Linked DNA regions of Homo sapiens: region 1 is linked to region 2. The links are contacts of gene promoters, found by promoter capture Hi-C in blood cells and fetal thymus (Javierre and others, 2016). All regions are on one chromosome and are shown on one strand. Each heading gives the region's core, a stretch centred on a gene start or on the middle of the fragment in contact. The rest is flanking DNA. Distances are from core to core; before and after follow the strand shown.

The links. The method cuts DNA at HindIII sites, captures the fragments that hold promoters and counts their contacts. A CHiCAGO score of 5 or more calls a contact.
Region 1: a contact is called between a fragment that was not itself captured here and the fragment with the promoter of ZBTB46-AS1 in region 2, in 1 of 17 cell types (monocytes). The highest score is 5.4, in monocytes.

The regions. Positions count from the first base shown.
Region 1 is chr20:63,899,416-63,906,570 of GRCh38, reverse strand. The region is part of intron 1 of DNAJC5 (DnaJ heat shock protein family (Hsp40) member C5); the gene reads right to left. Among named protein-coding and RNA genes, the nearest start is that of DNAJC5, 7.9 kb to the right of the region's middle. The HindIII fragment of the contact is 9,931 bases long and covers 423-7,155 here.
Region 2 is chr20:63,805,253-63,812,137 of GRCh38, reverse strand. ZBTB46-AS1 (ZBTB46 antisense RNA 1) reads right to left here and starts at 4,062. Exons shown (of 3, transcript NR_110081.1): 1 at 3,983-4,062. The region is part of intron 1 of ZBTB46 (zinc finger and BTB domain containing 46); the gene reads left to right. The HindIII fragment of the contact is 29,160 bases long and covers 1-6,885 here.

The DNA.
Region 1 (7,155 bases), core at 4,139-6,638, 93 kb before region 2:
CCTCATGATCTGCCCGTCTCGGCCTCCCAAAATGCTGGGATTACAGGCGTGAGCCAGCGTGCTCGGCTATTAATTTATTTATTAAGACAGAGTCTTTCTATTGCTCAAGCTGGAGTGCAGTGGAGCAATGTCGGCTCACTGCAACCTCCGCCTTCTGGGTTTAAGCAATTGTCCTGCCTCAGCCTCCTGAGTAGCTGGAATTACAGGTGCCTGCACCACACCTGGCTAATTTTCATATTTTTAGTAGAGATGGAAGGGGTTTCGCCATGTTGGCCAGGCTGGTCTCAAACTCCTGACCCCAAGTGATCCACCCGTCTTGGCCTCCCGAAGTGGTGGGATTACAGGTGTGAGCCACCGTGCCTGGCCCCATATTTTTAAATAAAAGTAAAATAAGTACATATATAGACAAAGTTTACAAAGCTTAATACATGTTTTATTGGCTATATTTTAATTAATTCTCAGCTTGAAGACACATTAATTATTGTCGCGTAGAATTTTAGATGTAAAAAGTATTTTCCTTAATTAAAAAAAAAATCCTGGGCCGGGCATAGTGGCTCACGCCTGTAATCCCAGCACTTTGGGAGGCTGAGGCGGATCACCTGAGGTCAGTGAGTTCAAGACCAGCCTGGCCAACATGGTGAAACCCCGTCTCTACTAAAAATATAAAAATTAGCCAGGTGAGGTGGCACGTGCCTGTAATCCCAGCTACTCGGGAGGCTGAGGCAGGAGAATCGCTTGAACCCAGGAGGCGGAGGTTGCAGTGAGCCAAGATGGTGCCATTGCACTCCAGTCTGGGTGACAGAGCAAGACTTTGTCTCCAGAAAAAAAAAAAAATTAGCTGGGCAGGGTGGCACGCCCCTATAATCCCAGCTACTCGGGAGGCTGAGGCAGGAGAATTGCTTGAACCCAGGAGGCGGAGGTTGCAGTGAGAGCTGAGATCACATCATTGCACTCCAGCCTGGGTGACAAGAGCCAGACTCCGTGAAAAAAAAAAAAAAAAAATCTGCCATGTGCGGTCATGTGTGGTGGCTCACACCTGTAACCTGAGGTGGGAGGATCACTCGAGCCCAGAGGTGAAGGCTGCAGTGACTGCACCACTGTAAACCAGCCTGGGCAAGAGTGTGAGACCTTGTCTCTTAAAACAAAAAAATCCAGCCCCGGGTGTGGTGGCTCACACCTGCAATCCCAGTACTTTGGAAGGCTGAGGTGGGTCAATCACTTGAGGTCAGGAGGTCGAGATCGGCCTGGCCAACATGGTGAAACCCCATCTCTAGTAAAAATACAAAAATTAGCCGGGCATGGTGGTGCACACCTGCAGTTCCAGCTACTCAGGAGGCTGAGGCAGGAGAGTCACTTGAACCCGGGAAGCAGAGGTTGCAGTGAGCCGAGATCGTGCCATGGCACTCCAGCCTGGGCGACAAGAGCGAGACCCCATCACATACACAAAAGACAGGAAAAAAAAAAAAAAGCCAGGCACGGTGGCTCACCCTATAATCCTGACACTTTGGGAGGCCGAGGCAGGCGGATCACCTGATGTCAGGAGTTCGAGACCAGCCTGGCCAACATGGTGAAACCCCCGTCTAGACTAAAAATACAAAAATTAGCCGGGCGTGGTGGCGGGCACCTGTAATCCCAGCTACTCTGGAGGCTGAGGCAGGAGAATCGCTTGAACCCGAGAGGCAGAGGTTGCAGTGAGCCGAGATCGCGCCGTTGCACTCCAGCCTGGGGTACAACAGCGAGACTTTGTCTCAAGAAAAACAAAAACAAACAAAAAAACCCCCACAGTTTATTAATCTGCCTTATTGTCCTTTGCCTTTTAAAAATATAAGATAAGCCTGTTTAAGGCTTTACTGGGAGGCAGCTGTCAGTCAGCCAGCTGTTCTGGAGTCAGTCCAGGGCAAAGGCTGCTGTAGGAACAGCATTAGCACAACTTTGCCTATTTATCCTTAACCAGAGCAGGTTTACAAGGATGCCTATACCATGAACACCTGCACGCATCTCAGTCCGCCCACCTGGAGGTCAGACACACTAAGAGGCAGCTGGACCAGCTCCCTGTTCAAGGCCACTTCAGATTCTATGTGAGTTACAGTGCCCTTGTCTTAAAGTATTTTCATAAATGTGAATTAAGCAGTGCTCACACCAGGGAGAAGGATGCTGTGAGTCTGTCTGTTGGTCTGCTGGTGACAATCAGTTAGGGTTACCCAACCTGGCGGGATGATGCAAGAGAAAACAGCACCAACAGAAACCACATCGTAAGAGGTAATTTTGGGGAAAAAAGGGTAATTTTGTAAATCCTGTGTTGTCACTTTAACATGTATGATGACATTATTTGTGCTTATTCTTCAATATTATACCTTTATACTCGAGAATCTAAAAAACTGTTTAAGACCCACCCTGCATGGCTGTCCTGGGGATTACGGCTAATGCATATTCGGCAACCTTGTCCCAGAACACCTGTTCAACAAACCACGGTTTGCCTCATTTCAGAGTGTTTTGCTATTTGGACACGGGGTATTCTTTTTCATCCCCCACTGCAACCTCCGCTTCCCAGGCTCCAGGGATCCTCCCACCTCAGCCTGACCTCAGCCTCTCGAGTAGCTGGGACCACAGGCATGCACCACCACGCCCAGCTAACTTTTGTATTTTCTGCAGAGATGGGGTTTCCTCATGTTACCCAGGCTGGTCTCAAATTCCTGAACTCGAGAGATCTATCCACCTCAGCCTCCCAAAGTGTTGGGGTTACAGGTGTCAGCCACTGCACCTGCCCAAATTTTTGTATTTTTAGTAGAGACGTGGTTTCGCCATGTTGGCCAGGCTAGTCTCAAACTCCTGGCCTCATGTAATCTGCTTGCCTTGGCCTCCCAAAGCACTGGGATTACAGGCTTAAACCACTAAGCCTGGCCAAAAATGTTTTTAATTTTTTAAAAATTTCTATACGAAGAGCCTTATTAAAAGTTTGAGATGGGCCGAGCGCAGTGGCTCACACCTGTAATCCCAGCACTTTGGGAGGCCAAGGTGCGCAGACCATGAGGTCAAGAGATCGAGATCATCCTGGCCAACATGGTGAAACCCCGTCTCTACTAAAAAATACAAAAATCAGCCGGGCGTAGTGGCGCATGCCTGTAGTCCCAGCTGCTACAGAGGCTGAGGCAGGAGAATCGCTTGAACCCAGGAGGCGGAGGTTGCAGTGTGCCAAGATCGCACCACTGCTCTCCAGTCTGGTGACAGAGACTCCATCTCAAAAAAGAGAGTTTGAGGTGAGTCAGTGAGGTGGTGCGTGCCTACAATCTCAGTTACTGAGGGTTAGGGTGATTCTAATCTACTGAGACTGTAGGCATGCACCACCTTGGGAGGCTGAGGCAGGAGGATCGAGCCCAGGAAGGCCAACCTGGGCAACATGTGGAGGCCCCATCTCTACAAAAATTAAAACATTAGTCAACTGTGGTGACACATACCTAAAGTCCCAGCTACTTGGGAGGCTGAGATAGGAGGATTGCTTGGGCCTGGGAGAATGCAGTGAGCTAAGACTGTGTCACTCCTCTCTAACTTGGGTGAGAGACAGAGTGACACCCTGTTGTAAAAAAAACAGGATGTGGCAGGGCGCGGTGGCTCACGCCTCTAATCCCAGCACTTTGGGAGGCCGAGGTGGGCAGATCACGAGGTCAGGAGATCGAGACCATCCTGGCTAACACGATGAAATCCCGTCTCTACTAAAAATACAAAAAACATTAGCTGGGCGTGGCGGCGGGTGCCTGTAGTCCCAGCTACTCGGGAGGCTGAGGCAGGAGAATGGCATGAACCCAGGTGGCAGAGCTTGCAGTGAGCCGAGACTGAGTCACTGCACTCCAGCCTGGGCGACAGAGCAAGACTCTGTCTCAAAAAAAAAAAAAAAAAACAAGATGAGGCCAGGTGCGTTGGCTCACGCCTGTAATCCCAGCACTTTGGGAGGCCGAGGTGAGTGGATCACCTGAGGTTGGGAGGTCGAGACCAGCCTGACCAACATGGAGAAACCCCATCTCTACTAAAAATACAAAATTAGCTGGGTGTGGTGGCACACGCCTGTAATCCCAGCTACTCAGGAGGCTGAGGCTGGAGAATCACTTGAACCCAGAAGGCAGAGGTTGCGGTGAGCCAAGATCACACCGTTGCACTCCACCAGCCTGGGAAACAAGAGTGAAACTCCGTCTCAAAAAAAAAAAAAAAAAAAAAAAAGATGAGGCCAGGAGCAGTGGCTCACGCCTGTAATCCCAGCACTTTCGGAGGCCGAGCTGGGCGGATCACAAGGTCAGGAGATCGAGACCATCCTGGCTAACACGGTGAAACCCCATCTCTACTAAAAATACGAAAAATTAGCCGGGCGTGGTGGCGGGCGCCTGTAGTCCCAGCTACTCGGGAGGCTGAGGCAGGGGAATGGCGTGAACCCGGGAGGCGGAGCTTGCAGTGAGCCGAGATCGCGTCACTGCACTCCAGCCTGGGCGACAGCACAAGACTCTGTCCCCCACCCAAAAAAAAAAAGCATTATTATTTTAAAGAACACATCAAGAAAGAACTAACAAAATTTATTGCGACTGGCAAAAATGTAAAATCTCAGATTTTAACAGCTAGTCCTATCGCAGCAGCTAAAAGAACACCAAAGTGCTGTGGTAAAAGGCCCCGCAAGCAAAGGGGAAAGACAGACACCATCTGAGGGCTACGAACTTGGCAAGAGATGACAGAAGCTACAGTCTGTACTCCTGGACCCAGAATTTCCTTCGTTATTTGTCTTAGGGAAACCTTCTTACAATAAAACACAATCCTATTTAATAAAGAAAAATCCGATGGGACTGCTCAGCAAAGATCCAAACATTCGCTCTGCTGCTAATCCCTCCCAATAACAGGAGGAGCAAAATAAAAGCCAGGCAGGGCCGCACACTCCACACACTCCCTCTGCTGAGCTGCAGTCACTCCTCCCGTCAGGCACCTGCAGCCTCGTCCGGGGTAGAGGCCTCTGGCCTGGGCTCGCCTCCACTCTGAGACTGATGTGGAGCGCGCGGACGCAGCCTCTGGCACCTGAATTCAGCTCCTGCTTCTTCAAGGGTCAAGAGTAAGACGGGATATTTTCGTTCTGCAGTTTCACTAGAACACATTTCCACCCTACCTGGTGAAAAAATAGAGGCACAGGGCAGGGAGAGCTCTCCCCGAAGTCAGCCGCGCTCTAGAGACAGCAAGGAGGGCAGGGCACAGCCGATGGGGCTGGGAAGTCGATTCCATCTTCCGACCTGCCAGCATCATGATTTCATAACAGGCACAGAATGCCTCAGAACGCAGATTGAGCACAGTGGCTCATGCCTGTAAACCCAGCACCTTGGGAGGCCAAGGTGGGTTGATTACTTGAGTTCAGGAGTTTGAGACCAGCCTGGACAACATGGTGAAACCCCATCTCTACTAAAAATACAAAAATTAGCTGGGCGTGGTGGCACACGCCTGTAATTCCAGTTACTCAAGAGGCTGAGGCAGAAGAATCACTTGAACCCGGGAGGTGGAAGCGGCAGTGAGACACGATCGTGCCACTGCACTCCAGCCTGGATGACAGAGCGAGACTCCGTCTCAAACAAACAAAGAATCCCTGGACACAGCAATGCAGACACTACATGGCTCTGGACACTTCACCTCGTAAATGATTATTTCTGCTGGTGATACATGTTCAATGTAGAATATTTAAAGGGACAATACAATTATAAACCCATGAAAAATAAGATTCATTCACATCCATATTCAAGGAATCTTCACTAAGCACTCACAACACAACACAAAAATTTAAAAATGTCACTCAGGTTTAATATGTCAAGAATAAATGACAAAGTTCTCTGTCATAGAAATAAGTTTTTTGAAACCATTCATGCAAAATGTAGAATGATGTTGCAACAAAGTTAAATTGTGGCATATGCAGGTCTGTCCTGAGGAGGAAATTATTGATCAATACAGAACTTCCTTTTTTTTTTTTTTTTTTTTTTTGAGACAGTGTCTTGCTCTGTCGCCCAGGCTGGAGTGCAGTGGAGCAATCATGGCTTGCTGCAGCCTCAGCCTCCCAGGCTCAGGTGATCCTACCACCTCAGCCTCCGAGTAGCTGGGACTACAGCTGCATGTCACCATACCCGGCTAATTGTTTCTAGTTTTAGTACAGATGGGGTTTTGCTATGTTGCCCAGCCTGGTCTTCACTTCTGGACTCTAGCAATCCGCCTGCCTCGGCCTCTCAAAGTGCTGGGATTACAGGCATGAGCCACTGCACCAGCCCAGAATTTTCAGAGACATGTCCCAAACCTGGTCTAAGTACTTCTTTCTTTAGAAAATGAGATGCTGGTTGGACGATCACTTGAGTCCAGGAGCTCAAGACCAACTTGGGGCTGGGCTCAGTGGCTCACGCCTATAATCCCAGCACTTTGGGAGGCCAAAGTGGGTGGATCACCTGAGGTCAGGAGTTCAAGACCAGCCTGGCCAACATGGCAAAACCCCATCTCTACTAAAAATACAAAAATTAGCCGGGTGTCATGGCAGGCGCCTGTAATCCCAGCAACCCAGGAGGCTGAGGCAGGAGAATCACTTGAACCTAGGAGGCAGAGGTTGCCATGAGCGGAAACCGTACCGTTGTACTCAAGCCTGGGTGACAGAGTGAGACTCCGTCCCCCAACCAAAAAAAAAAAAAAAAAAAAGCCCAGGCGCAGTGGCTCACACCTGCAATCCCAGCACTTTGGGAGGCCAAGATGGGCGGATCACAAGGTCAGGAGATCGAGACCATCCTGGCTAACACCGCGAAACCCTGTCTCTACTAAAAATACAAAAAATTAGCCTGGCGTGGTGGCGACCGCCTGTAGTCCCAGCTACTCGGGAGGCTGAGGCAGAAGAATCACTTGAACCCAGGAGGCAGAGGTTGCAGTGAGCCAAGGTCACGCCACCGCACTCCAGCCTGGGTGAGAGAATGAGACTCCGTCTCAAAAAAACAAAAGAAAATGAAATGCTGTCCTAATTTCTGCAATTTCAATTTGAAATATCAATGCTTGCAAAACTCATACAAGTTAAAACAATTTTTATTTCTAATGACCTGTATCTATTAAATGTCTGTGATGTACCAAGAATAAAGCAGAACACACTTCCTCATTAACACACATGCACCCAAA
Region 2 (6,885 bases), core at 2,813-5,312:
TCTTTTTTTTATGTAGGAAAAGTTGATGCAAATTTTGCCTGAATTTGGAGTTTTCCTATTAGTGAGAGTTTTGTTCCGAAAAGATCGCCGCCACTTTGGTGGGTCAGCACTAAAGCCTTGTTTCAATATCTGCAGGGTCAGTTCTTTTGAATATTTTAATGCTTCCACGTTTGGAGTCTAAGAGCTATTTTTACTTTAGTTTTTTTTCCCAGGCAAGTACTTGGTCTGAACGATGTATGAGCCAGACCTGGCAGAAAAGTGGGAGTTGGTGAAATAGATGTGCTACTTAGTGACAGGGACTGTGATTCTAACATTTTGTCTTATGGCAGAGTTGGATGAAAGGGGTTTGTTCCTGCACCATGGCTCACCTGCCCAGTGAGTCCTGAGTCCTCATGTGGCAGGGAGTCAGACAGCAGCAGCTCTCTTCCCAGCGGGGTAGAGCTCACCTGGCTGCAAGGTGAGCCGGCTGGCCCGTCGCCCAGCTCAGAGCTGACCCTCACACGTGCAGATCTCTGCTGGGCCCAGGGGTCAGGGTCAGTTGTCTGCGTCACCTATGGGCCACCCCCTCTCTGCACCCCCGAGATCTTCCTGCTCTCTGCGTTGCCTATGGCTATGAGCACAGTGGGCTTCCTGGAAATACTTTCAGAGGAGGTGACAGTCGTATCCTTCCAGGGCCCCTCCTGCCCTGTGGAAGAACTTACTTCTGCTCCTGGAAGTCAGAAGCTGGGAGGCCTGGGGCTGTAGTGTCTTCTGTATGAGAGGTGGGGTGGGGCTGGGGAGAGGAAGGCTGCTTGACTCTTCTTCAGGGAGACCCACCCCATGGCAGCTCCGAGGTCCTAGTGGGCTGGTGGCTCGCATCTTGTCCACCTGTTGTCGTCTCTTGCCCCTAGGGGGGCTCATGCCCATCCTGTGGGGTTCTGGGACCCAGACTCGCCCCTGTGGGCTGGGCGGGGTGGGGCTCATGCCCATTCTGTGGGGTTCTGGGACCCAGACTCGCCTCTGTGGGCTGGGCGGGGTGGGGCTCATGCCCATCCTGTGGGGTTCTGGGACCCAGAGAGGCAGACTCTTCGCCTGCCTGTTGGGTTTGTGAAAAGTCAAAGAGAGTGGAACACGGACGCCGGCTGGTGCTCTCCAGTGTTCTCCGGCTCTGCCGCTGGAGCTCCTCGTAGGAGTGAGGAAAGAGAGTGGAGCCTGGACGCCAGCTGGTGCTCTCCGGCTCTGCTGCTGGAGCTCCTCGTAGGAGTGAGGAAAGAGAAACGTAGATTGCTCTCATGTTCGCGCTCTGTTCACCTCCTGGGTGCTGATTTCCTGTGGCGTCATCCTACCCTGCATCTGTGCTGGTGGGCACGTTCTCGCGTTTGTGTTTTATTTTTATTTATTTTTTTGTTTTTTGAGACAGAGTCTCACTCTGTTGCCCAGACTGGAGTGCAGTGGCACAATTTTGGCTCACTGTAACCTCTGCCTCCCATGTTCAAACGATTCTCCTGCCTCTGCCTCCCTAGTAGCTGGGATTATAGGTGCGTGCCACCACGCCCAGCTAATTTTAATATTTTTAGTAAAGACAGAGTTTCGTTATGTAGGCCAGGACGGTCTCAAACTCCTGATCTCATATGATCCACCTGTCTCAGCCTCCCAAAGTGCTAGGATTACATTTGTGTTTTATGAATAAGGACCTTGGTTTGCGAGGGGAAGGGGGGTTTTGGTGCCTATCCTGAGTGTGGTCGGTGTGTGTGAGCTTGTGCAGACACGACCAGCTGGGCTTTCTGTTCTCATTTCTTCCCGTTAATTTCTGATAAACTTCTAAGCATCCACGTGACTGGCATTTTTAATGTTCCTGGAATTGGGTTTTGCTCAGTTTTAATACTTGACGGTTTTCTGGGCCATCTTCGAATTGTCGAGTGTTTGGGTCTTTTTCTGTTTGTCACTGTTAGCCATAGCAGTGCTTGGAACATCTTGGAACCAATTAGCTTTTTGGGTTATTTCCTTGGGGCAGAGTCTCAGAAGTGGAATTAGTCAAAGAGGCAGAGGCATCTGTAGGCCTCATCCCCACGCTGCAGGCTGCTTCAAGGGCCGCCCCACTCTGGGCCTCCTGTGTCACGGCCACCTTTGTAATTGACATTACGTTAATGTTTGCCAGTTCCATGTATTTAGAGTTTTCTTTTCTTTTTTTTTTTTTGAGAGAGGGCCTTGCTGTGTCACCCATGCCGGAGTACAGTGGTGCCATCTTGGCTCACTCCAACCTCGACCTCCCGACTCAAGGGATCCTCCCACTTCATCCTCCAGAGTCGCGGGGACTACAGGTGTGCACCACCATGCCCGGCTAATTTTTTCTATTTTTTGTAGAGATGGGGTCTCACCATGTTGCCCAGGCTGGTCTTGAACTTTTGGGCTCAAGCCATCTGCTCGCCCCGGCTTCCCTCAGCGTTGGGATTTCAGGCATGAGCCACCATTCTGGCCTGGCCTTGAAATCTTTTCTCAGAGTTAAGCACGTGTCTTTTAAGTCCTTTCCAGAAATCTTTAAAATTGTATCATTGAGTTAAGCCACACTGGCCACCACACGGCTAACTTCGTAAGGGAGAAGAGGGGAGAGGAAGGGAGGTCGCGGAGCTCCTGCTGTCTCCCGGAGTCCTCTCCACCTGCTGGGCTCTGGCAGGTTTGCTGAGGACCGCGTGAGGGCGCTGCTGTCTTCTGGGCTCAGGGCTCCTGTGAGCTCCTGAGGCCTGGACCCAGGGGTGGCCTTTGTTGCTCCCTTGGGCATAATATGGGGGGACACAGGCAAGATGTGGGGCCACCACCCCAGCAGGCCTGTGCCGAACCCCAGGACCCCATTCCTGGAATAGACGCGGCCATGAGGACTGGACGCGCTGGGCGTGGCCCACGGCGGGGCCCCCAGGGCTGCGCCCCCAGGGCTGCTGACCTTGCCCCCCTTGGCTCCACCGAGTCTGCACCTTTAGTGCCCACTTCGGCCAAGCCCATGGCGAAGTGCCCCAGGCGCTGCGGTCCCTGCGAAGGGGAACGTGGAAGGCGAACGTGGAGAGCCCCTTGAGTGCCTCTGCAGCACCGGAGCACCGAGCCGCCAGCTCCCAGGTCTTACCTCATGAATCATGGAGTTTTCTTTCTTTTTTTTTTTTCTTTTTCTTTTTTTTTTTTTTTTTTTTTTTGAAGCGGAGTCTCGCTCTGCCGCCCAGGCTGGAGTGCAGTGGCGCCATCTCGGCTCACCGCAAGCTCCGCCCCCCGGGTTCCCGCCATTCTCCTGCCTCAGCCTCCCGAGTAGCTGGGACTGCAGGCGCCCCCACCACGCCCGGCTAATTTTTTTTTGTATTTTTTAGTAGAGACGGGGTTTCACCATGTTAGCCAGGATGGTCTTGATCTCCTGACCTCACCATCCGCCCGCCTCGGCCTCCCAAAGTGCTGGGATTACAGGCGTGAGCCACCGCGCCTGCTGGTTTTATTTCTTAAGGCGGCCTTGGCGCCTGTCCTGGCCGAGCGCTGGACCGAGGAGGGCCTTCTCTGGGGGAGGCTCTGTCCGCCTCCCACCCACGCTGGAGGAGCTCAGGTCTCATGGGGAGGCAGGACTCGCTTAGGGGCGGGAGGTCACACTGCCCCGGAGCCCAGGCCCTGCCCTAGGAGGAAGAGCCTGGCTTCCCCCTTCCCTCCCGCCGGGCCCGGGGCTGAGACTCCTTGTGGGTCCGGATGACCCTGTCCGTGACCTCCGCCCTGGCCCCGCTTCCGCCCCACGCCCCCCTGAAGCCCCGGGCTCCGTGGCGTCTGCCTTCCGGGCCCTCCCCTGCGCTCAGCCCCCGGGGCAAGGGCTGGGAAGGATGGCTTGACTGGCCTACAGGGTACAGGGGACCCCTGACAGGTTCATCGCTGGGGCCCCATGGGCCCCCCCTCCGTCTGTGCCGTGCGGATGTGGAGACTGAGGACTCCTCCATCGAAGGCGGCCGGTGGTGAAATCCAGTAATCTGGGTGGGGTCCTTACCGCGCTGTCCGCGGGGTTTCCTCACTGCTCAGGCGGCTGCTGCTCATCCACGCCACCTCCGTCGGTCCGTTCAGCTTCCGTGAGTGTCCCCTGTGGGAAGGTCCGTTCAGCTTCCGTGAGTGTCCCCTGTGGGAAGGTCCGTTCAGCTTCCGTGAGTGTCCCCTGTGGGAAGGTCCGTTCAGCTTCCGTGAGTGTCTCCTGTGGGAAGGTCCGTTCAGCTTCCGTGAGTGTCCCCTGTGGGAAGGGCCTGTGCCGCACAAGGTGGGGACTTGGGCACACGGCCTCGGAGGCCAGACACCGGGCGAGCCCCGCTCTGGGAGTGAGACCCGCTCGGAGGGGGAGCGAGCCCTGAGGCGCCGCCTGTAAGCCAGACCCGCTGCCTCACACAGACGGGTGCTTCGCTTGTTTTGGCCTAGTACAGCTTTTAAGCAAAAAGTAACTGGTTAGGGATTCTATCATATTGCTTGATGTAAACAAATGCGGCAAAATGTTAAAAAATGGAGTAGCTGAAGGCCGGGCGCGGTGGCTCACACCTGTAGTCCCAACACTTTGGGAGGCCGAGGCGGGCAGATTGCTTGAGGCCAGGAGTTCGAGACCAGCCTGGCCAACATGGTGAAACCCCGTTCCTACTAAAAATGCAAAAATTAGCCAGGTATGCTGGCGTGCGCCTGTAGTCCGAGATACTGGGGAGGCTGAGGTGGGAGAATCACTCGAACTCGGGAGGTAGAAGTTGCAGTGAGCCAAGATGGCGCCACTGCACTCCAGCCTGGGTGACAGAGCGAGACCAAACTGACTCAAGAAGAAACAGAAAATCTGAATAGACCTATAACAAATAAAGAATCAGTAGTCAAAAAACTTCCAATGAAAGAAAAGTTCAGAAACTTTCACTACAGTTATTGTACTTTTTAGCTTCCAAAAAGAAAAGTCAATTTCAATAAAGAAATTGAATCAATAGTCAATAAACTTCCAACAAAAGAAAAGTCCATCTCTGTCTCTCTCTATATATGTATATGATTGTATATATCACTTCACTGTTGAATTCTATCAAACATTTTAAGAATTAACACCAATCCTGGCCAGGCGTGGTGGCTCACGCCTGTAATCCCAGCACTTTGGGAGGCCGAGGCAGGTGCATCATGAGGTCAGGAGATCGCGACTATCCTGGCTAACACGGTGAAACCCCGTCTCTACTAAAAATACAAAAAATTAGCCGGGTGTGGTGGCGGGCGCTGGTAGTCCCAGCTACTCAGGAGGCTGAGGCAGGAGAATGGCGTGAACCTGGGAGGCGGAGCTTGCAGTGAGCCGAGATGGCGCCACTGCACTCCATCCTGGCCGACAGAGCGAGACTCCATCTCAAAAAAAAAAACCAAAACAAAACAATTAGCTGGGCGTGGTGGTGGGCGCCTGTAGTCCCAGCTACATGGGAGGCTGAGGCAGGAGAATCGCTTGAACGTGGGAGGTGGAGGTTTTAGTGAGCCAAGGTCGCACCGTTGCACTCCAGCCTGGGTGACAGAGCCAGATTCCATCTCAAAAAAAGAGAAAGATTCCATCATATTCCTTGAGAGCATAGTGTTGCCTTTATTTTAAGCAGGTATTACAACCTTCTTATTTAGGTTCTATTTTTTTTGAAGTTACCATTTCAGGTCAGAGTTAGCCATAGCAGTATCTCAGATTTAAAATGTACACAAATAGTTTTCTTGCCTTGTTAAGCTGATTAGCTTTCTTTTCTTTCTTTTTTTTTTTTTTTTGAGATGGAGTTTCACTGTTGTTGCCTGGGCTGGAGTGCAGTGATATGTTCTCGGCTCACTGCAACCTCTGCCTCTCGGGTTCAAGCAATTTTCCTGCATCAGCCTCCCGAGTAGCTGGGATTACAGGCACCCGTCACCATGCCAGGCTAATTTTTTTTTTTAACTTTTAGTAGAGACGGGGTTTCACTATGTTGGCCAGGTTGGTCTCGAACTCCTGACCTCAGGTGATCCGCTCGTCTCAGCCTCCCAAAATGCTGGGATTACAGGCGTGAGCCACCTTTCCCAGCCAGCTGATTAGCTTTCTGAGAAAATTATAATATTTTTAAAAGTTGGGGCCGGGCATGGTGGCTCATGCGTGTAATCCCAGCACTTTGGGAGGCGGAGGCGGGTAGAGCACCTGAGGTCAGGAGTTCGAGACCAACCTGGCCAACATGGTGAAACCCTGTCTGTACTAAAAATACAAAAAAATTATCCGGGTGTGGTGGCACACACCTATAATCCCAGCTACTGGGGAGGCCGAGGCACGAGAATCACTTGAACCCAGGAGGCGGAGGTTGCAGTGAGCCGAAGGCTTCAGTGAGCCGAGATCGTGCCACTGCCCTCCAGCCTGGGCGACAGAGCGAGACTCCGTCTCAAAAAAAAGGAAAAAAAAAAAAAAGCTGATGCATGGCTTTGTGTATTAGTTTCCTGGGGCTGCTGTGAAAGTACCACCTGCTGGGCAGCTCGCGGCAGCAGAGGTGTCTCCTCTCAGTTCCAGAGTCCAGCGCTGGAACTCAGGGTGTCTCAGGGCCATGCTCCCTCTGGAGACTCCAGGCAGGGTCCTTCCTGCCTCTTCCAGCTCCTGGTGGCTCCAGGCATCCTTTGGCTTGTGACTTTGTCACTCCAGTTTCTGCCTGTGGTCACATGACCTTCTCTCCTCCCTGTGTCTTTTTTTTTCCTTTAGAGATGGGGGTCTTGCTCTGTCACTCCAGCTAGAGCACAGTGGTGCAATCGGAGCTCACTGACTGCAGCCTGCAACTCCTGGGCTCAAGTGATTCTGCCGCCTCAGCCTCTCAACGTGCTGCGATTAGAGGTGTGTACCACACTGCCCGGCTGCTGTTTCATTTTACCTTCTATCAGCACTTAGTATGAGACATTTTTGAAATACTGTAAATC